2 separate regions of the Homo sapiens genome follow, and region 2 is linked to region 1. Evidence: promoter capture Hi-C in 16 types of primary human blood cells and fetal thymus (Javierre and others, 2016). All regions are on one chromosome and are shown on one strand. The core of a region is centred on a gene start or on the middle of the fragment in contact, and the rest is flanking DNA. Distances in the headings are between cores, read along the strand shown.

What was found. The method cuts DNA at HindIII sites, captures the fragments that hold promoters and counts their contacts. A CHiCAGO score of 5 or more calls a contact.
Region 2: the fragment with the promoter of XPC here is called in contact with the fragment with the promoter of RAF1 in region 1 in 1 of 17 cell types (total B cells); the score reaches 6.2 in total B cells.

Annotation. Positions count from the first base shown.
Region 1 is chr3:12,662,670-12,665,369 of GRCh38, forward strand. It overlaps RAF1 (Raf-1 proto-oncogene, serine/threonine kinase), which reads right to left and starts at 1,448. Exons shown (of 17, transcript NM_002880.4): 1 at 1,144-1,448. RefSeq lists enhancers at 530-1,140, 1,141-1,752, 1,364-1,713, 1,754-1,823 and a silencer at 954-1,173. The HindIII fragment of the contact is 11,087 bases long and covers 98-2,700 here.
Region 2 is chr3:14,177,256-14,180,023 of GRCh38, forward strand. XPC (XPC complex subunit, DNA damage recognition and repair factor) reads right to left here and starts at 1,346. Exons shown (of 16, transcript NM_004628.5): 1 at 1,211-1,346. The coding sequence starts at 1,313. LSM3 (LSM3 homolog, U6 small nuclear RNA and mRNA degradation associated) reads left to right here and starts at 1,562. Exons shown (of 4, transcript NM_014463.3): 1 at 1,562-1,626. The coding sequence starts at 1,606. RefSeq lists a silencer at 986-1,105 and enhancers at 1,156-1,505, 1,606-1,655. The HindIII fragment of the contact is 5,126 bases long and covers 1-2,186 here.

The DNA of each region.
Region 1 (2,700 bases), core at 198-2,697:
GCCTTTGTACCAGCTGTTCCCTGAGCTCCTCCTCACCCGATGAGCACTTACTCACAGGTGTTTCAAAACTCGACTCAGAAGTCTCCTCGAGTGTAGAAGCTTCCTCAACTCCTCCCCAAGCAAAACTAACTGTTCTAAATCCCCATAACACTTGATAAGCCAATTCTTATCACACTGCATTGTTTTCACGCCTTAGGAGCGCAGGGAGGGCAGAGTCTCTCCACTCAGCCCACAGAGGACCAGGCAAGCAGAAACGCTCAATGAACGTGCCTTGAATTCATTTTCCACTTAGATTAAGTGACCCCCTAGAACCCGTTCACATCTCAAGGATACACTAAGTTCCATTCCTTCTTCCCACCACAGAATGAATACCAGGGGCACACCCAGAGCCCTAGAACGAGAACAATGAATGAACACGGCCGCCTCGCCTCTCACGACGTCCAAACCCCTCTCTCTTGGGCATCGACTCGCTCGCAGAGCCTCAGCAGCTGCAGAGCTGAAGCGTCCCGGCGGCTCTCGCGTCACACAAAAGACAGCCCTGGCTCTTCATTCCAAAGCGTCCTGAGGCCAATCCTCTATAAGTATCCCAAACCTTTCATTAATAACCCAGAGTCCTGATACCCAAGGCTAGTCCTGATACCCAAGAAGAGGCCCCTGTGCCTTTGTGGTAGGGCACTGGCCAGTTTCCTCCTCTCTTACCCGATTCCTCACGTCGTCTCTAAAAGGGTGTCACTTGACTGAAGTACCCTGAGAAAGGGTGCAAGCCCGGGTCCCACATTCGGCGGCCCAAGAGAAAAGGAATTGGCCCATCCAAGTGACAACAGATATGGGGCAGCTCTGGGCGGATTTTCCCACTGCCAAATATGAGGAATGCGCATGGCATAAGGGTGGCGTTGGCACGTTTCCGCCAAACACAAGGAAATTTGAGTGGGATGTGGGAACTCGGCTCGCCGGCCATGACACCGGACTCCGGGGCCCCCGCCCAACGCTACCCCAGGGTGACAACGGCCTGGCCCAAGCCCTCTGCCCGGCAGCCGCGGGGCCGCTCCATCAGCGCCACCCAGGCCCGGTCGCCCTGGAAGCCGATCCCTCAGCCCCGCCGCCCGGCTCCCCCGGCATCCACGACCCGGTCCTGCCACCTACCTGAGGGAGCCAGGCCGCCCCAACGTCCTGTCGTTCGGCGGCAGCTTCTCGCCCGCTCCTCCTCCCCGCGGCGGGTGAGGGAGCGGGAGGCGGTCACATTCGGCGCGTCCCCAGCCCAGGGGACGGAGCCCCGAGCAGCCCCCGCATCGTAGCAAACGCGCTCCGCGCCTCAGGGCACGCGCCCCAAAGCCCGGCCAGCTGACCCTTTTCGGGGCCCAAAAAAGGCAGCAGAAAGCCGTTCCCGCCTCACAATCGTTTTCCTCTTACTCCCGCCATCTAAGATGGCGGCCCAAGCGCCCGCGATTAAGACTCTCGGGCGGCCCAGACGAGCGAGCCCTCGACTCGGTGCTCGTCCTCCCGACCTGCGACGCCACCGGCTCTCCGATTCTGCGCGAGCCCTACTGGCAGTCGACTTCTAACTTGGCTCGGGCATCCATCGCTCTGGCCTGAACTCAGGCCCCGCCCCCGGGGCGTGGCCTAGCGATCTGGTGGCCGCCATTTCGAAGCTGAAGAGGTTAGGCGACGCTGACTTGCTTTCAGGAGAGGCACTCGGTAATCGAGAAGAACCGGCTTTCGGCCAGCCAGGAGTGGCCAGAGGCCTAGAAGGGGAGAGGAAGGCCTGCCTGCCCAGCATTGCAAGGCCCAGCGATCACCAGACGTGCCTCAGGACACAGGGCACAGTGTCCAACTTTGACGCGTCCTCTCCGGGCACTTTAATACCAAATCACGGCTCCGCCACTTGACAGCTATGTGGACAGTCCCTGAACCTTAAACGGTCTTTTCCTTGTGTGTAAATTCCGAGTTCATTTTTCCCCCATCACATTAGCAACAAGTTAAAAAAACTGATAATATCCGGTTTGGTCCAAGGTATATTGAAACCTGTTGTGTGCCCTCGCAGCGCTATCACAGTGGAACTTGGACATGTTAAAAGTATATATCCTTCCTCCCGGCAGTTTCACTTCTAGACACTAATTCTAGAGAAATAAGTATACACATACACAAAAAGCTATGTGTGAAGATATTTAATGCCATATTATTTGCATTCTGGAGAAACACTGGGGATGAAATGAAGATTAATAGGAAACTGGTTAAGAGAACGCTGCTACACATCCAATCTGGGTTGTCATCCATCCAAGAATGAACTAGATAGTTACTGAATTTAAAAAACAACAAAAAAAGGGCCCGGCGCTTTTTTTGGGATTACTCCTGTAATCCCAGCACTTTGGAAGGCCGAGGCAGGCGGATCACCTGAGGTCGGGAGTTCGAGACCAGCCTGACCAACATGGAGAAACCCCGTCTCTACTAAAAATACAAAAATTAGCCGGGCGTGGTGGCGGGCGCCTGTAATCCCAGCTACTCAGGAGGCTGAGACAGGAGAATCGCTTGAACCCGGGAGGCAGAGGTTGCAGTGAGCCCAGATCGCACCATTACACTCCAGCCTGGGCGACAGAGCGAGACTCCGTCTCGAAAAAATAAATAAATATAAAAAAATAAAAATACCAAATTAGCTGGGCATGGTGGTGCATGCCTGTCATCCCATCTACTCGGGAGGCTAAG
Region 2 (2,768 bases), core at 96-2,595, 1.5 Mb after region 1:
ATTATTAGTGATCTAGAGATGATTTAAAGTATGTCGGAGGATGTGCATAGGTTACATGGAAACACTAGGCCATTTGATATAAGGTACTTGAGCATCACAGGTTTTAGTATCCGCGGGGTATCTGGGAAGGACCACCTTAGTTTGCTCAAGGAATGTCTAACTTGAGTTTTGAAGAAATAGAAAAAATCAGCCCTGGTAAAAGCCATGGGGGGTTCACTCTAGGCAGAAGGAACATCAAAGGAAAAGACTCAAGGAATAACTTGGCATATTTGAGGAAGAGAAAGGAGGCCAATAAGGAGGGTATCTGGCAAGGAAACAAGTGGTAAGAGAAACAGGAGAGGTAGCAAGAGCCAAAACATGTAGTATCTTGTAGGCCAGGATAAAACAACTGGATTTTAAGCTAAGAGCAATGGAAAACCAAGGGGAGTTTAAAGCAGGAGCAGGGCATGATTTTTTTTTTTTTTAAGATTATTTGGGTTGCTGGATGCAGAGCTGGGAGGCCAGTAAAGAGGAAACTGCAGTCACTCAACTGAAAGGTGATGATGACTTGGACAGGGGCTGTGGTCATGGAAATGAAGAGAAGTGGACAAATTTGAAATACACTCTTGAGGCTGAACTGACTGGACTTGCTGACGGACTGGATGTGTGGACATAAGAAAAAGGTGGGCTTTGCTTTATAACAAGTATTGAGACTGGAAAAACGGAGGAAAGCATAGATTTAAAGAGGAAAACCATGAGTTCTGCATTGCCCATGACAAATGTAAGAAGCCTATCAAATATCCATGAGGGGAAGTCAGGTGGGATCCCACTGTGGAACTCTGGGTGAGACTCAGCTGAAGTTATCATTCGGGAGTCAGCACACTGCATCACTCTACGTCCTGGTCCGTCCGTCTGTCTTCCTGGGACACAAATAACTGCCTTCTCCGAGTTCAACCCTGAACATCTGTATCCTCTGGACAACGGGGAGCGGGAAAAAAGCTACGCAGGAGCTTGGATCGGGCGAAGCTCGCGGGAAACCGCTCTGGGTGCGCAGGACAAAGACGCGGGGACAGCGGGGAGGGCCGGCCGCAGCCTGCCGGGCTGCCCCCACGGCGCGGAACGCGCGCAGCAACCTCCACCAGGCCTCCGCGTCTGGACTCCCGCCCTGCCTCTGGGCCTCCTCCGCCCACCGGCGGCGTCTCCCGCGAAGCCCGCTGGGCCTCGCTCTCACCCTCCTCCTCCTCCTCACGCCGGGCCTTGCTCTTGGCCTTGGATTTCTGGCTGCGCAGTTCGCGTCCCCGCGGCTCCCCGCCGGCCGCGCGTTTCCGAGCCATGTTGCTTGTCTGGGCAAATTCCACTTCGCGAGTGACGCACCCGGCCGCGATGCGCTAGAACGCCGGCCCCGCCCCGAGGCGGTGCGCTTGGCCACGCCCCTTCGTTGGAGGCCTAGTCACGCCCCTAAAGGAAGCTCCACCCCATACCCGTGGCCACTAAAAAACTGCGGGAAGCAGGAAAGAGCACAACAGGTTTCTCTCTATTTCCGGTGTATTGTATCCTCACGTTTCCGGAGATTGACGTTGCTCTTGTGTTCTCGCGAGAGGCGGGAAAGGGCGCAGGGTTTGAAACATGGCGGACGACGTAGACCAGGTAAGTGTATTTTAAGGAGGTCGCTCGAAGGAGCTTCTTGTACTAGGCTGCTTTTTCCAGACTCAGGAAAAATGGCCAGTCGTGCCTCCTCTCTCCAAGTCACCATGGCCTAATCCACCCTGTCCTTTCCGTAACCCCCCCTCCGAATTTTGCCGTAGGCCCTGAGACCTTTTCCTGTTAGAAGCCCACCTGATGACTATTCTCACACTCTTCGCTTCATTTTTTTAAATCTGTAGATTATTATCCTTAGCTACCTCATGGAGCTGTCAGGATTCCAATAGAAAGCCAGGTAATAAAGTTAGGAGTTGTTATCATTAGTGAGCGCAACAATTATTTATTCATTCAGCAGATAGAGTGAACATCAGCTTTGTATGGTTAGGCACTGTTCTAAGGGCCAGGGACACTGACATCGACATATAAGAGATCCTTGCCATTACTTGGAGCTTATATTTGCGAGGAGAACAGATAAAAGTAAATATAAATATGTAAGACTTCCAGGAACTGTGATGTGCTGTGAAGGAAACAAGGAACTGGTATGCAGAATAACAGATGGTCCTAGAAGCTTTTTCACCTGGTCTTTTTCTTCCTCAAATATCTTTGGAGATCATGCCACAACTTAAACTTTCTACTGAAATCTGACCTCCTCAGAGAGGACTTCTGCCCAAATAGCACTCCCGCTACTCTGGTTACCCTGCCTCATTTTTCTTCATAGAGAGTTATTTTTTCATATTAAATGTATGCATCTTTGTTTAATGTGAATCTCTCCCCACTAGAATGTAAATGCCATAAGAGCAGGGATTTTGTTTTGTTCATTCTTTTGTCTTTGGGGTTTAGAACAGTGCTGGAAACACTCAAAAAATATTTGAGTGAATGAGTTAGATGATCAGAGGAAGCCTCTTTGAGAAGCCAATATTTAAAGCTACAGGATGAAAAGAGCAGACAGTGGGCATCCCAGACAGAGGCTTAGGTAGCAGTAGGGCTTTTTCATGTGCATATTCTTACAGTATTATAATTATTTGTATGCCTCTCCACAGTAGAATGAGCTCCTTGAGGGTGGGGATTGTGACTTCTCTATCATTGTAATCTAACAGTTGGTTATCTGATCCTTTAACAAACACTTGTTGAACTGAGGGACATAGGGA